Linked DNA regions of Homo sapiens: regions 2, 3 and 4 are each linked to region 1. Evidence: promoter capture Hi-C in 16 types of primary human blood cells and fetal thymus (Javierre and others, 2016). All regions are on one chromosome and are shown on one strand. The core of a region is centred on a gene start or on the middle of the fragment in contact, and the rest is flanking DNA. Distances in the headings are between cores, read along the strand shown. Region 1 holds the start of SLC33A1 (solute carrier family 33 member 1). Region 2 holds the start of COMMD2 (COMM domain containing 2). Region 3 holds the start of TSC22D2 (TSC22 domain family member 2). Region 4 holds the start of SIAH2-AS1 (SIAH2 and CLRN1 antisense RNA 1).

Region 1 (3,932 bases), core at 881-3,380:
CCCAACTATCTCAATTAAAAAAAAGAAGAAAAAAGAAAAAAGAGAAAAACTTACATGTGTTTTACTCATGCAGAGAAACAGGGAAATTTTTTAGAACTTACCCTCCATTACTTACAGGACAAACTTTAAACTCTTTTCCCATAGTAATTAAAGAAAATCTTACTAATTTAGTCACAGCCTTTCTCAGCACGATTTCCCAAACCCAGTTCCACAATTTAGGCAATGTCCTGTACTTTTTTGTACTTTCCTGCCTCAGTGCACTTTTACTTTGTGTTGTGCATTCTGGTGTGCCATTTCCTGGCCTCGTGGAATCTTATTCAAGAACAAAGTCAAATGTTATCTGCAATGTGAAGCCTGACTCCCAAAGGCAGTTACTAACTGGCAACTCTGAACTCTCCTAAAATGTTCATCTTCCTTATTTCTTGAGTGCAGAACTCTGCCTTATTCATTAGAGGCCTTAGAATCCCGTCCCTTAGCTGGTTCAATAATGTTTGAACGAATAAACCCTGTTCCATTCACTAGAAGGCTGGATTCTGGGTACAACGGTAGGGGTAGAAATGGATTAGAAAGTATAGAGCTAGAAACCTAAAACCAACAAGACAAAAGGAAAAATGTGAACCATATGAGCCACACTTTTTAAAAGTGTGCATTTGTGTATTAAGCAAGTGGCATGAATCCCTGGACTCGGTTGTGTTATTTGATGGGTTGCCTCTCCCTGTTAACCGCATAGTGATCATTTGATTGCTCTAATATCATTCATTTTGGCTTTAATATTTCAAAGAAGCTCATTTGGACGAAACAGAAAACTTACCTTGAGTTATCTCCCATACAATGATTTCCAGTAAATTAATGAGCTTCCCTCCAACGTCACACACTCTTTCAAAAGGATAAATAAACCTAACACCATAATAGCTTAAATACACTACCTGAAAGAGTAACGATTCCTCTGGGTTGAGGCTGAAACCGCAAATATTTGTTACAAAAGTCGGCAGATTCAAGGGCCAAAAACAAAACATTGCCCAAAAAGTAACCCGCTGTTTGGCCCACCGAATTGCAAGTAGAAGCATAACCCACATTTTCCCTGGATAACATAGTTAACGCCCAACCATCGACGGCAATGTCCTGAGTGGCGGCCAAGAATTCAAACAAAAAGAACGCCACAGTGAGAGCAATCACGTCGGGTGTTCTGTCATCGGTATTCCCAAGCAAACGGTCCACCTGAGTGGATAAATAGATCATGAAGAGTCCTAGTATATACTGTGTCGGGACAAGCCAAGATTTGCGACGACCGAAGTTCTTAACGTAGACCGCATCAACCAACGGGGCCCAGAGTAATTTGAGACTGAAGGGCCAAAAGACAAAACTGAAGAAAGCTTGGTCTGTATAGCTAACATTTTTGCTTTGCAAAATGAGTGGGATGCTTCCCGCCAAGCCCAGGGGAATACCCTGAAGCACGTAAAGAAAGAGTAGTAGCAAAATGCTGCTTAGTTCGGCCCGGAAGCTCTGTGGGGCTTTTAAGAAGTCGCCAGTGCCGGTATCCCCCAGAAGAGCTTCTCTGTCCCCTTCCCGGCCCGCTGAGTCCAAATGACTGTCATCCCAACCGCCTGGCGGCAGGGGACCGCTCTTCATATCCAGAGAGTGACTGAAATTCCCTGGCCGCCGTTGCCGGCTGCTGTCCTTGTGGGAGATGGTGGGTGACATATCAGAGACGATGCAGAGCCCCGTCTGTGGGGGGCCGAGGCTGAGCGTTTTGGATCCGTCCAGTCCCAGGTCCAAGGCTGTCGCGCTGGACCAGGGTTTCGGTGGTTCACGGGATGGTGGCAGGGCTCAGAGCGATAAGGGCACTTCTTACTGCAGCCCGGAGTGCTGAAGCCGGGAGCCAGTCCTCTGGCTAGAGGCCCAGAGGATGCCTGGATAGGTGCCCCCTGGAACGGCGTCAAAGAGCCTGAAGGAGACCCCCGGGCAGCAGCGCCGGGCTCGAGGCTGGAGGTGTGTGCCGTGGTGCCAGGATGGAAACCAGCTCCTACCTGCGGCGGGATCGAACGGCTGGTCTCCCGACCCAACACCTCCAGCTCTCGCTGCTATCAATGCGGCAGAGAGCACTTTCTCTACAGGACTCCAGAAAAAGCATATAACTTCCTGCCTCGCGCTTCAGGAAGTGGTCCCAGTCTCTAACAGGTCCCTTCCCAGCCTCCAGAGCAAGCCAATCAGGGACACGCTCTCGTGGCCCAGTTCGGAAACAATGCTTGGTGGGAACCTGCAATCTTGGCTGCCGGAACCTTCGGGGAGGATTAACGCCGGCGCACCGTGCGGCCGGGGCGGGGCGCCGCCCAAACTCAGGCCCTGTGACAGCGACTGTGGCGGTCTGGAAAGCGTGGGCCTCGGTCATTGGGCACGAGCGGTCACGTGACAGCGGGTTCCTCCAGGCCAGCGCTGGTGGTTGAGTGATGTAATCACGTGGGGTCTGAAGTCTTCGTGGGTGTAGGTTTCTTCGTTATGCTGACGACAGGCAGTGCCCGAACTCTAGGCTGGGAGTTGTGCCATGCTGCTGCTTTCGTGGGCTGACCAGAAAAGGGTAGAAGGATTGACGTTTACGAAGTTTTTGAATCAGGAGGCAAGGTCGCCTTGTGCCCCCAAAAGGATAGAAAAAGGCCTGGCAAACTGGAGAATCGCGTCCTTACGGTGCCTACATATTTATAGTACGAATTAAACTGCTCAAGGGGTGCTAGGTTTGTCTGCAGTCCGTTTCTCCCTCATGGTGGAAGACGCGTGGGGAAACTTGGTAACCAACTCTAATTACATTGGTGATTGGAAGACTCGTTACATCCTGTTTTTATGTTGCAATAAAACGTCTTGTGGCCGGGCGCGGTGGCTCACGCCTGTAATCCCAGCACTTTGGAAGGCCGAGGCGGGCGGATCACCTGAGATTGGGAGTTCAAGATCAGCCTGACCAACAAGGAGAAACCCGTCTCTACTAAGAGACGTACAGGAATTTGAGAATCTGATTAATTTTTTTTCTGCTCTCTCACCTCTGGCAGAAAGATTATTATTTTTTTTTCTTTTGAGAGGAATCTCACACTGTCGCCTGGGCTGGTGTTCAGTAGGGCCATCTCGGCTCGCTGCAGCCTCCACCTCCCGGGTTCAAGCGATTCTCCTGCCTCAGCCTCCCGAGTAGCTGGGACTACAGGCACGCGCCACCACGCCCGGCTAATTTTTGTATTTTTAGTAGAGACGGGGTTTCACTATGTTGGCCAGGCTGGTCTCGAACTCCTGACCTCGTGATCCGCCTGCCTCGGCCTCCCAAAGTGCTGGGATTACAAACGTAATGGCAGGCTAGGCACAGTGGCTCACGCCTATAATCCCAGAACTTTGGGAGGCCGAGGCGGGTGGATCACGAGGTCAAGAGATTGAGACCATCCTGGCCAACACGGTGAAACCCCGTCTCTACTAAAAATACAAAAAATTAGCTCGGCCTGGTGGCGCGCGCCTGTAGCCCCAGCTACTTGGGAGGCTGAGACAGGAGACTCGCTTGAACCTGGGAGGCGGAGGTTGCAGTGAACCGGGATCGTGCCACTGCAATCCAACCTGGCGACAGAGTGAGACTCCGTCTGGAAAAAAAAAAAAAAGGCAACTGTAAAGTCCTCTAATCTTTGTTAAGTAGAAGAATAGATTGCAGAAAAGAACAGTGTTGGCCGGGCGCGGTGGCTCACACCTGTAATCCCAACACTTTGAGAGGCTGAGGCGGGCAGATCACTTGAGGTCAGGGGTTCAAGACAAGCCTGGCCAATATGGTGAAACCCTGTCTCTACTAAAAATACAAAAATCAGCTGGGTGTGGTGGCTCATGCCTGTAGTCCCAGATACTCGGGAGGCTGGGGCTGGAGAATCGTTTGAACCCGGGAGGCGGAGGTTGCAGTGAGCCGAGATCATGCC
Region 2 (3,932 bases), core at 1-2,500, 6.1 Mb before region 1:
AGATGATATGATTTTTATTTTTTAGGTATGTCTTCAAAAAATCAATTATAAACCATTAACAACATTATTAAAACACACAGGTACCTGCCAGGACTATGATGTAGAGTACACCAGACCGTTCTTAAGAATCCAGCCAACACAAAACAGTCCAGAAAATCCCTTACCATGAGCTTTGAGCTCTCAGTGAGGAGATACGTTAATCCTTCCACACCATGCTGGACAGTGTCACTACTCACATTGAGTTTTCCTGAGAAAGAAAAGTAAAAACGAGCAAATAAATTACTACTGTAGTATTTATCTTGTTCATATTTGTATTTAAAAATAAACACTATTCATTATTACATGTTTTCAAACACTGCATGAAAAACAGTAAGTTGGCCAGAGGCTCCTGCTCCTTGTCATTCCACTCCCAGCCAAATGCCTTTGGTATTTCCCACCAAGTAACCTTAACAAAATGCAGAACTGTGGAGACTAGTATCAGGTGCGTAGCCCTTCTCTTGAATACGTAGCTCCTTCAAGTCTGGCAGAAGAGGAACTCGACAGGGATTGACTTAATCCCAGAGACTGCCTCTTACCCAGGGGTAAAACAACACTTTTTTTTTTTTTTTTAGCAAAAGCGGATATCTGAACAACTAATAATGATAACCAAATACTTGCAATTTACAGTTGACCCAGCTATTCCACAGACTTTGGTATATTTATACAAAACACTTTTCAGTATTTCTGAAAGTAAGGTGGTATTATGTACATTTTACCATGAGAAAACTGATTTAATAGAAGCTTTAACAATCTCACAGCTACTTAAGGGACGGGCAGGATTTGCACCCTGACTGAAGAGCTCTGCTGGTTTTATTCTACTACAATCGGAACAAGACCCTAGGACTCGCAATAATCCGTTTCTCTCCCGGGAGACAGGGAATGGCTCGCAACCGCCCTAGAAGCCTGCGGAGCCTTCCCCTTTCCCTTCTTACTGGCGGCGCCTTCGTAGATTTTTGGGTTTGCGCCGCGTCTCAGGAATTCCACAGCAATCCGCCCAAACTCGGCGACCACTGCAATGAAAGTCAGAAGGCTGTTGAGTGCCAGGCGCTGCCTTTGACCTCCTCCCCAGCCCACAGAACACCGCCCCCACGCCCGCTGACCCGCGCTGTCCACTTGAGGCAGGAAGGCCAGGTGTTCCTTATGCTCCTCGGACAATTCCAGCAGCATCTTCACTGTCCTACGATTTCACCCGGCAGCGCCGACCCCGCCTTCGCCACTTCCGGCGCCCGTGTCCCGGCGCCTAGAGGCTCCGGCGTCGCAGCGTCCGGAGCTTTGGGTTCCGGCCTACGAACTAACGCGTTACACTCGGACGTTCCCTGCAGCGCAGGCTGAGGTCAGAACATTGAAATCATCCCGCAAAGATGCAGTGAGCGCCTGCTGGGTGCAAGGTGCTAGGCTCTATGGGAGATGAAAAGGTGTTTCAAATCCGACACGCCCCCTCGTGGAGCATACATTAATAATATCAATAGTTCACATTTGTTAAGCACTAACCGTGTCAGGAAGTGTTCTTACATTTATTAAATACATTTGGAGTTCAGAAGAACCCTATGAGGTAGGTTCCATTATAATTTCCATTAGAGATAAGGAAACTGATAGACAAGTCCAGCAACTGACACTTTTATAAAGCTAATAGTTTCCAGAGCTTCTATGTTATCTTAAATGTATCTCAGTTAATATCCTCAACAAACATGGCTTTGTTTTTACAGATAAGACACAAAGCTCCAGAGATTATGTGACAAAGCCTGTGACAGAGTTAGATGGAGAGGGTTGGATCCCTCACTTACCTGCTGCAAAGCCCATCCTTCTACATAACAGCCTGAAAGCTGAAAGCTTCTGACAAGTTTTATGAGTGATTATAAATTAGGATAAAGATAATGATGACAATGACCGATGCTTACAGGATTCAGAGCAATGTTTTTGTTTGTTTGTTTTGTTTTGTTTTGTTTTTTACATGGAGTCTCGCTCTGTCGCCCGGCTCACTGCAACCTCTGCCTCCCGGGTTCAAGCGATTCTCCTGCCTCAGCCTCCCGAGTAGCTGGTATTACAAGCGCCCACCACCATGCCTGGCTAATGTTTGTATTTTTAGTAGAGACGGGTTTTCACCATGTTGGCCAGGCTGGTCTTGAACTCCTGACCTCAAGTCATCCAGCCAACTTGGCCTCCCAAAGTGCTGGGATTACAAGCATGAACCACCACACCTGGCCCAGAGCAATGCCTTTTAAAAAGTATTTAGCGCCTGTGATAATTTAGTTCCTTTTCCAACTCTCTTCTCACCTGCTGTGGTTCAAATATCAGAGATGATAAAGTTGCTAATTGATAGGAATATGATTCTTCAAATCTTAACCCCTTGAAAATGGAGGGTGTGGAGGAAGAGAGGGGAAGGGAAGAAGACTCTTCATATCTGTCTTTTCTATCTAAGGCTTGAGACAACTCTATATTCTGAGTCTCCCAGGCAGACTAAAAATTGGAAGAGTTTTTCAATTCACTTCTCTGTGTCTACTTTGTCCTTCACATCTGACTGAAATTGTTTCTTCCACTGGGACACAGAAAGACAGGTCCTTGAACTTATTAGTTAGTTCTTGAAGTAGCATTTGCAGAGAGAACACAACTTTTACTTAGACTGTGAATTGCAGATTAGCAAAAATTGCATCATTTCCTGAAGTTGCCTTTATTCACACATTATTGAGAAAACATCCATTATTAAAGAATAATTTTCAGAAAAGGTAAAATCATGATTCTTCTACAAGTGTACAATGAACACATGTCAAAAAATGTATTGAACTAGTTAATTAATGAGAGAATTACAGCATTCTGTAATTAATGAGAGATTACAGTAAAAACCAGTTTCAACTGATTCAAAAGAGGTATTCAAGAACTGTACATATATAGGGAGTAGGAATGCTGAAATGAATTTGCAAATAGACACAATATTATGCCAATATGAAATGGCCTTTCTTGTCTGTAATCTCAGGGAATGAAGTGAGGACAGGCGAGGTGAAGGTGAGACTAGGGAGTAGCACAATAGGCTGTCTAAAAAAGGTGGTCAAGGAACCAAGTTAGGCCAGGTATGGTGGCTGATGCCTGTAAACCCAGCACTTTGGAAGGCCAAGGCGGGAGGATCACTTGAGGCCAGAAATTCAAGTCTAGCCTGACCAACATGGTAAAACCCCATCTCTACTAAAAATACAAAAATTAGCAAAGCTTGGTGGCATGTACCTGTGGTCCCAGCTACTTGGTAGCCCAAGGCATGAAAATTGCTTGAACCTGCGAGGCAGAGGTTGCAGTGAGCAAGATTTGAGTCACTGCACTCCAGCCTGGGTGACAGAGTCAGACACTGTCAAAAAAAAAAAAAAGAAAGAAACCAAGTTATATCCAAGAAAAACCAGCCTGGGAGTTAAAACACCCCAGGATAATTTATAGAGTGACTTCTGTTGCCATAAGTGATATAATTGTTTAGAAAAAATTACCTGAGTGAAAATTCAAAACTCTAGATTCCAGATCTGGCTCTGACACTACCTGTATGACTTCTAATAAGTTGTTTTTATGTTATAACCATAGCCTCTTCGTCTGTAAAACTGGCATTTTAATACTGCCCTTCTGTGCCATGCAGGGCTGTTATGATGCTCAGATGAACTAATAAATTCACATTAAAAATTGATTTTGATGATCAAATGAAACAATAAATTAGAATTAAGCAAACAGCAGCATTTACATTTTATAGGAGCAGATTTTATGCTCCTATAAATTCACAAATAATCATCTTAAAAGCCATTCATTTAATTTAACAAACTTTATTAAGCAATTCCTTAAAGGTTCAAAGATATGCTATGCTTTGGCAATTTGTAGATGAATAAAACAATGTCCTTGCCCTCTAGGAGGTGTCAGAAAAGTGA
Region 3 (3,932 bases), core at 728-3,227, 5.4 Mb before region 1:
TTAAACTTTTGGAAAACAATATTTTCAAGAGAACTATTAAACACAAATCCTTAACCATCTAAATGACACTTTTAAAAGTTATAAATCATATGCTTTTCCTAAGATGTCTTTTAACATCTTTAGCCCCCTCCTTACCAGAAATTTAGTCCACTTCTGGATCTCTTCTAAATTATCTTTATCTTTCCTTTCATCTCATAATATATCATTTTAAGGAGAAATGGTCTTACAGATTACTTTAAGATTTTTCCTCTAAATGTACGATTTAAGAGTATCATAACGAGTAATCAAGAAGTTTATATGATAAGATAATGTAAAGGGATGAGCAGGCATATAATACTCATTTTTCCAAAAGCACCACCATCAACACTACCCATTATAACCACCTTAAACATCTGGTAAATCAATCCAAAATTAAATTAAGCTTTTATAAATTCATATTGGGTTTAACCATTTGATCTAACTTATTGATGGAAAACTGCCTCTAACAATTACTGAAATTACAGACTTAGAAATGAAACATTCCATTAGCTATCTCTGCCACAATAGCATAACGTTACATTTTGTTCCATTACTTTCGCCCAGCCCCTTAAGAAATAGGGATTTTATGTCGTCTTATTTCACATTCTGACTCCAGTCACTTGGGTTTGGAGGGCATGGTTTCCACTAAAGTTAAAAGACCTAGCTCTATAAATTACAACTAAAGACCTAAAAAATTCTCTGCAAATTTAATTCTCAAAACATCTTTTGGGATAAAAAGTATTTCTATTCTTCAAAGATTAGAGAACCGAGTTCAACGATTTACTGATTTAAGTTATCATTATGTGATTGCTAACGCTGCAGTAGATATGAAATCACGATTTCCATTAAGACTTAGATTTTACCTAAATGACGACTGCTTTAGTATGTCAAAGTTTAGGAGCCCATCCCCATTTTTTTAAACTGCTTAAAAGAATGGCCTTAGCATGCCAAAGTTTAAGAGCCCATCCCCATTTTTTTTTAACTGCTTAAAAGAATGGCCTTACCATTTTCTTTGGCCAGGAACTAACTACAAGATGATAAATTTGCCAGTACTTTCTTTTCATAGTTGTTCTTTGCATTGGAACAGGAAAGGGTGCTTTATCACTCGTTACGGTTGTTCATGGCCCAATCCAAATCATATAATACGCTGGCTGCTACTAACAGTTTTAGAATAAACAAAAAGAAGAACTATAATGCAGTAGGTTCTACATTTATAAAGCCCATGAGCTGATTTCGTGCCGAAAGTAAAACAGTCTCAAGAGTTTAAATGAATCCTGGAATCACAGCAAATTCAGGAAATTTAGGAATATGTTGGTAACCCTTAAGCTTTTTAAAAACTGACTACACCCTGGGCAAGTAACCACCCCCTGATGCCGTTGTGGGAGACAGAATTTCTGGCAGGAAGATAATTTTCTGACTCAATCTGGCTTGCCGTTCTTGTTTAATCATCCCCATTTCTCTGAACATTTTACTCCTCTGACTACAATGGTCAACATTTATTTTCAGAAGTTTTAAAGTGATTTAGTTCTTCCAGCCGCACCTCTTTTTATCCCATCTAAGTCTTCCCCAGCCCCCATTCCTATCGCCCTCGTTTCACTAAGATTTTGCTAAACATTAGACACAAGCACATGACCTCCAGTCTTCCACTGTCTCGGAACAAACCGACATAAAAACATCTGATTAGTTCCATTGTAAGCTTCCCTAGGCTTAGAATTTAAAATGGTCTTTAGCTCGTCAATGCTTAAAGAACCTACAACACAAAATTTAAATTTTAAAAATTTTAAATAAAGAAACCGCTCCCTTTTTTAACCTTTAGCCCCGCCCATTGCCCCCCACCCCAGGTTCCACGCGAAACTGCAGGAAACCGGAGGGGGCGGAGCGGTGACGTCACGACGCCGGTGCGTCACGGAACGGCGGCGGCTGCGGCGCTGGCGGTGGCTGCGGCAGCGGCGGCATTTTAGTCGGCAGCGGCGGCGGCAGCGGGGCTGCTGCTCCTCCCAGCATCCCTGGCGCGGCCATTTCAGCCCCATCTTGGCCCAGCGGAGGGAGCTGCAGCCGCCGCTTCAGCAGTTTGAATTTCAGTTTCTTCGGGGTTTAGGAATTGGGCGCACCGAGGAGGAGCCGGAGAAGCCACCACCGCTACCTCACACAGCCGGGGCGCCTCCGGTCCCGTGCCAGCGGTCTGCCGCCGCCGCCCCTCTCTGAGAGAAGCCGCGAGGGGAGGCCGAGACCGCCGTCGCCGCCCGCCCGCAGGGGTGGTTCCCCCTGTAAGGGGAGGACCGAGCCGGCTTTCCCCTCCCCCAGAGCGGGTTTCCGCCTGAGGCAGTCGACATGTCCCTGGGGCTGAGCTCCGGCTAGAGCCGGGGAGGGAGGGCCGCCTGCCCGCGCCACAGCCCCACCGCCCGCCCGCGGACCTTCAGCCAGCTCCGGCCCGCGGCTCCCGGCTGAATTAGGCATCTCCGACTCCGGACTCGCCGCTCCTTCCCTCAGTCAGAGAGCCCAGCGCTGACGCCGGCACCGGCCTGAGGAGCCCGAGCGGGGCAGCACCGCCCCTCACGCCGCCGCCACCGCCTCCTCCTCCTCCTCTTCGCCCTCCCACTCCCACCCCCAGCCAAGGCCTGCTGACCGCGCCGAGCGCCGAGCTGGACTGACCACGGCTGCCCGGAGACGAGAGAGGAAGCAGCCGGCCCGCCCCTGGGTTCGCGCTCTCGCCGCCTCTGAGGGAATTGAATTGAGGCGCCGCGGCTGCGAGAGCTAAAAAGGAAGGAGGAGCCGCCGCGGGACTGAGACGGGGGCAGAGCCGAAGAGACCGACACAGAGAAGGAAACGAGGAGGAGGATGTCTCACCGGGCGGCCAGCGCCTGGATCAGCCCGTGACTCTTAACAGCGGCGGGCCTCAGACCCCAGCGCAGACTCGGACTTTGTCTTTGGGGGCCCGTGCTCTGCCCTCCCCGGTTTCCGACAGGACCCAGAGGAGCCGGCGTGCCTCTCTGCCCTCCAGCCTTCTTCACCATGTCCAAGATGCCGGCCAAGAAGAAGAGCTGCTTCCAGATCACCAGTGTCACCACGGCCCAGGTGGCCACTAGCATCACCGAGGACACCGAGAGCTTGGACGACCCGGACGAGTCACGCACAGAGGACGTCTCCTCCGAGATTTTCGACGTCTCTCGGGCCACGGATTATGGCCCTGAGGAGGTCTGCGAGCGCAGCTCTTCCGAAGAGACGCTTAACAATGTTGGGGATGCGGAGACTCCCGGGACCGTCTCCCCAAACCTCCTCCTAGATGGGCAGCTGGCAGCGGCGGCTGCTGCTCCCGCCAACGGAGGAGGAGTCGTTTCGGCCCGGAGCGTGTCTGGGGCGCTCGCCAGTACCCTGGCGGCGGCTGCCACTTCGGCCCCCGCCCCCGGAGCACCCGGCGGCCCCCAGCTCGCGGGCTCATCCGCCGGGCCAGTGACTGCAGCCCCATCTCAGCCTCCCACCACATGTAGTTCCCGTTTTCGCGTGATCAAGCTGGACCACGGGAGCGGAGAGCCCTATAGACGCGGCCGATGGACGTGTATGGAATACTATGAGAGGGATTCAGACAGCAGCGTCCTGACTAGATCCGGGGATTGCATTAGACACAGCAGTACTTTTGACCAGACTGCGGAGCGGGACAGCGGCCTGGGCGCCACCGGAGGGTCGGTGGTGGTAGTAGTGGCCTCCATGCAGGGGGCGCACGGGCCCGAGTCGGGAACTGACAGCTCCTTGACTGCTGTGTCACAGCTACCCCCGTCGGAGAAAATGAGCCAGCCCACTCCGGCCCAGCCGCAGAGTTTTAGCGTTGGGCAGCCACAGCCGCCGCCGCCACCCGTAGGTGGGGCTGTGGCTCAAAGCTCGGCTCCGCTGCCGCCGTTCCCGGGAGCCGCGACCGG
Region 4 (3,932 bases), core at 790-3,289, 5.1 Mb before region 1:
GCAGCTCTTGAGATGTGGGCTCTGGTACTTTATTCAACGTTGGTTTTTTTCACATGAGCCAGCCCATGAGAGATTCTGAGAGCAGGTGGGGACAGTAAAAAGGCAGTCCCATAATTTCTAGGAGCCTCAAACTGTAGGCCAAAGGGCTAGGTAAACAGATCTGCCTTGTTTTAAGTTTGATACAGGCCTTACGGCTCTCTGTTGTTTCTCATCCTCTACAACTAACACATCTTGGTTGGTCGCTGGGCCTATGTATACATTCAAGTTTGGTTTATCCAGACTAACTGGCTGAGCTGCCCTGCCAATAGTTTGGATTATTGATCAACCAAAGGTGAGGGACACACACCCCAGCTTTATACAACTCACACACATGCACACACAAAAGCATCCCCAAGATCACATCCTAAGCTTGGTTCTTGGTCTGCAGGGGAATAATTGGCCCTTTTAAATTTCAGCTTGCAAAGTAATAGCTTTACCCCACTGCATTCTTATAGAATAGAGACTCAGAAAACCACTGACATGTACAGAAAGGCTGAGAACCCCTGATTCCCAGAACTACTCTTCAAGGTTGATTTCAGTAGCCTGTTTCACGTTAGGAAAGAACGTATGCTTTCATAGGAACCAGAGTTCTAGATCCTGAAAGTGAAACTTCATGCTCCATATAGCATAACTGTTTCCTTCCCTTTCTCTTGGGAACAACACAATTCTATTATGGTTACATTTTAAAAACAAATTATGGATTACTGACTAATATCAAATGCTCATTTGTGAACTAAAACTCACCTAAAAGCCATTTCTTTTGTTAGCCGCTGCGCGTTTAAGGGAAAGTAAAGGGGTGAGAAAATGGCTCCCCAGAAATCCTATGGGGCATCCCCCACCCCTGCAATATATCTCAAGCATCAAATAGCCACTCTATGTTAACTACCACCAAACCTTTTCCAACCACTAGGTTGTCACCTTTTTCACAACCCTAAGACAACTATGCAAATACTTTATCTAAATTTTGAGAAACTGGGCTGAGTGAATTAGTAAGCACTATATGAGGAGGGGTTAACAGCAATTTATTAAGGTTGCCTGAAACACCCTAGTCCAAACACCGATTCAAACTCTTATTTAAATATGCTATTTTAAACCTGATTTGCAGCAGGGCAGCAGACCAAATTAAAGCACTCATTTTACTGACCTGAGTCCCAAGCCTGAATTCTCTGGTGGATTATTTTTAATTTAAAAATGAGCTCTTGTCCTATAAAATAAGCAGCACCAAGGAGAAATGCAAGACAGCTTAAATGGCCCAAGAGGCAGCGCAAGTTACTTTTACAAAAAAACTGGAAAGTATTAGTGACATTATCTCCACTTCTAATTTCAGAAAATGACTTTACAGTATACTTCTAGGTTATAACGTAGACAAGTATGTCTGTGAAACTGCTCCTGAAGGTTTCCACGTAATAGCTGCAGGTAAACAAATGTTATAATATGACCACACAATGCAATACTATGCAGCCATTTAAAATACAATGAAGTCGACTAGGTTTCAGGCATAGAGAAATATGTGTGATAATATGAATTTAAGAACAGCAAGTTGCAGATGCCATTTTTGGAGAAAAACTTACATCTATGTGTGGGTATTAAAAAACCTCCCTGACATACACTGACATCTATGATTCTATATTTAGCTGCGAGGGTGTATGTATATATAGTTTAAAAAGATACACACTAAACCTAACAATGGTGGGAAAGGAGGGGAGAGATCTTGGTCTTTCATTTTACTTCTTGTCTTGGTGGCTTGCATTTTTCGCAAGGGCATTGAAAACTTTTTACATTAAATAAAAAATGAAGTGATGAGCTTTAAACAACTGTAACAACAGCTCTTGAGTGCCCTTGTTAATTTCTTGATTGACTGTTTTCACCCCACTTAGTACAACAACGCAGCCACAACTCCTCAGTCCTTCCCAGTCTTTGGAAGGCTAGGAGAGAAAAAGGCGTGGCTTGCAGGGTTTTCTTCTAGCTAGAGGAAAACAGGCTGTAGGCGCCCTTTTTTTAGCTACAATCCCGAGAGCTCCCACGTGTCAGGGGTGCGCAGACGGTAGGCGCGGGGTGCAGGACTCCAATTATCAATTCAGCCGAGCCCAGCGCTGGTAAAGGGGGCGTTTAGCTCGCCCGTTTCCTCCCTCCTCAATCCCCACACAGTCAGTTTCTCGGTCCAAGTTTTACTGGTGCGGCCCAGCCCTACCGAGAGTACCCGAATACACGTCTGCAGAGGACGCGGGCATTGGGCCGGGTGAGCTACGATGTTCTAACGATCAGCAAATGCCAATTAATCTGTTAATTGTCTATTAACAATTATTACTCGGTAAATGTCAACCCAGACCTACACCCAAAGTGGGCTTGAGGGAGGGTGGACGAAGTGTAAACATTTTTTCTTTTTTTTTTTTAAATGAGAGATGCCGCCCGCCTCTCCGGGCCTGCGAGTGGGCTGGCGGATACCGGAGTCCCTGAGGTCACCGGCGGAGGTACGTGGGCTGTCCCTGGGCTTACCTTACAGGGAAACAGGACTGCCGAGGCCACCTTCTCCATAGCCAGGTTCCTGATGCTGGGCGTCAGGGCGCCCCTGCACGTCGGGCAGCAGCTCAACTTCTGGCGGCATTGGTTACACACCAGGTGCCCGGCCTGGCACTGCAGAATAGGAGGCAGGACATAGTCAAAGCAGACCGGACACTCGAAGAGCGAGGTCAGCTCGTGGTGCTGCGGGGACACCGGGCCGGCCCCGCCGCCGCCGCCGGGGCCCGAGATCACCGCCGCCGCGGCGGGCACCGCGGACGAGCCGGGGCCCGCAGCCGAGATGGTGGCGGCGGCCGGGGGCGCAGCCGGGGACGGAGTGTGCTGGGGCTGCGGCGGCGGCTGCTTGCTGCAGGGTTTATTAGCGCTGGGGCCGGTGGAGGACGGGCGGCTCATCGCGCTCCGAACCAACCATGGAACTGCGGGCGCCTGCCTGCCGCGGGGCCGCCCGGGTCAAGGCGGTGCGCGCCCCGCGGGCAGCGAGCTCCGAGGCAACGCCACGGCGCCCAGCCCAGGTCCGGGCGGCGGAGACGCTCGGCGCCCGGCAGGCGGAGGGCTGGACCGCGCTGATGCACTCCGCAGCCCCCGGCGTTCCGAGCACGCCTCCGCGTCGGACCCCGCGCGGTGCCCTCCTCCCGGCGGCGTCCCGGGCCCCGAACCCCAGCGGTGCGCAGAGCCCTGGCCCACCCGCTTCTGGAACAGCCGCTGACGCAAGCCCCGGGGGCGCGCGCGGACGTGACGCCTGGACACGTGTGCGGCCGCCCAGGCGCGCGGGGACTGGCAGAGCCACCCTGCGCCGGGGCGCTGGCTCCGCCCGGCTCCAGCTGGCAGCGCAGGGGGCCGCCTAGCGCCGGCGCTTCCTGCTCGGGCTGCGGGCCGGGCCTGCGCCAGTGAGCATGCCTGGCTCGCTGCAGCCCCGCGGGGTTGTCTTTTCTGGGTTGAGGAGGGGGGCTACTCTCGGGGAAGCGTCGCCGAAGTCCTCTGGCCACACCCCGGGGTGCCTGGCTGACGCGTCCCTCAGCTCAAACGAGAAAGGCAACTTCAGGCGGGGCGGGAGCGTGGACGGTGGGTGGGACCGGACGCGGGCGGGCAGGGGCGGGGCGCGGGCGCCCCTGCACTAGTCGGAAAAAACCGAGAGGTTTCTCTTCTCAGGGCTGAGTCACCAGCACGCAGGAGAAGAGGGCGAAGCGGCCACCCGCGTTCTGTGTTCGGAGTCAGGACGAGAAGCATTGGGTGGGAGCAGGGCGAGGGGCTCGAGTTGGGTCTGCAGCGGGCACAGGACCTAGTTTTGTACAGTTAACGGTGGGGTTGAGTAAAGAGGGGGGCGGTGGGGAGGATGTAAGCTCCCTTTATTCCTTTCCCAGCGGACCAGGAGG

Evidence for each region. Contacts are between HindIII fragments. The CHiCAGO score rates a contact against its expected background, and 5 or more counts as called.
Region 2: the fragment with the promoter of COMMD2 here is called in contact with the fragment with the promoter of SLC33A1 in region 1 in 7 of 17 cell types (non-activated CD4 T cells, naive CD4 T cells, total CD4 T cells and 4 more); the score reaches 9.4 in non-activated CD4 T cells.
Region 3: a contact is called between the fragment with the promoter of TSC22D2 here and the fragment with the promoter of SLC33A1 in region 1, in 2 of 17 cell types (activated CD4 T cells and total CD8 T cells). The highest score is 6.7, in activated CD4 T cells.
Region 4: a contact is called between the fragment with the promoter of SIAH2-AS1 here and the fragment with the promoter of SLC33A1 in region 1, in 1 of 17 cell types (activated CD4 T cells). The highest score is 5.4, in activated CD4 T cells.

Annotation. Positions count from the first base shown.
Region 1 is chr3:155,852,297-155,856,228 of GRCh38, forward strand. SLC33A1 (solute carrier family 33 member 1) reads right to left here and starts at 2,131. Exons shown (of 6, transcript NM_004733.4): 1 at 927-2,131. The coding sequence starts at 1,701. LOC105374174 (a long non-coding RNA gene) reads left to right here and starts at 2,457. Exons shown (of 3, transcript XR_924607.4): 1 at 2,457-2,782. RefSeq lists enhancers at 1,719-1,788, 2,159-2,718. The HindIII fragment of the contact is 4,607 bases long and covers 1,372-3,932 here.
Region 2 is chr3:149,751,239-149,755,170 of GRCh38, forward strand. It overlaps COMMD2 (COMM domain containing 2), which reads right to left and starts at 1,251. Exons shown (of 5, transcript NM_016094.4): 1 at 1,140-1,251; 2 at 972-1,049; 3 at 165-247. The coding sequence starts at 1,206. RefSeq lists a silencer at 1,407-1,476. The HindIII fragment of the contact is 1,089 bases long and covers 779-1,867 here.
Region 3 is chr3:150,406,321-150,410,252 of GRCh38, forward strand. TSC22D2 (TSC22 domain family member 2) reads left to right here and starts at 1,978. Exons shown (of 3, transcript NM_001303264.2): 1 at 1,978-3,932. The coding sequence starts at 3,031. RefSeq lists silencers at 2,069-2,668, 3,339-3,508, 3,769-3,932 and enhancers at 3,039-3,088, 3,795-3,932. The HindIII fragment of the contact is 3,533 bases long and covers 1,713-3,932 here.
Region 4 is chr3:150,759,898-150,763,829 of GRCh38, forward strand. It overlaps SIAH2-AS1 (SIAH2 and CLRN1 antisense RNA 1), which reads left to right and starts at 2,040. Exons shown (of 3, transcript NR_187306.1): 1 at 2,040-2,083; 2 at 2,442-2,510. SIAH2 (siah E3 ubiquitin protein ligase 2) reads right to left here and starts at 3,272. Exons shown (of 2, transcript NM_005067.7): 1 at 2,536-3,272. The coding sequence starts at 2,952. RefSeq lists enhancers at 827-926, 2,743-3,689 and a silencer at 2,798-3,697. The HindIII fragment of the contact is 3,527 bases long and covers 407-3,932 here.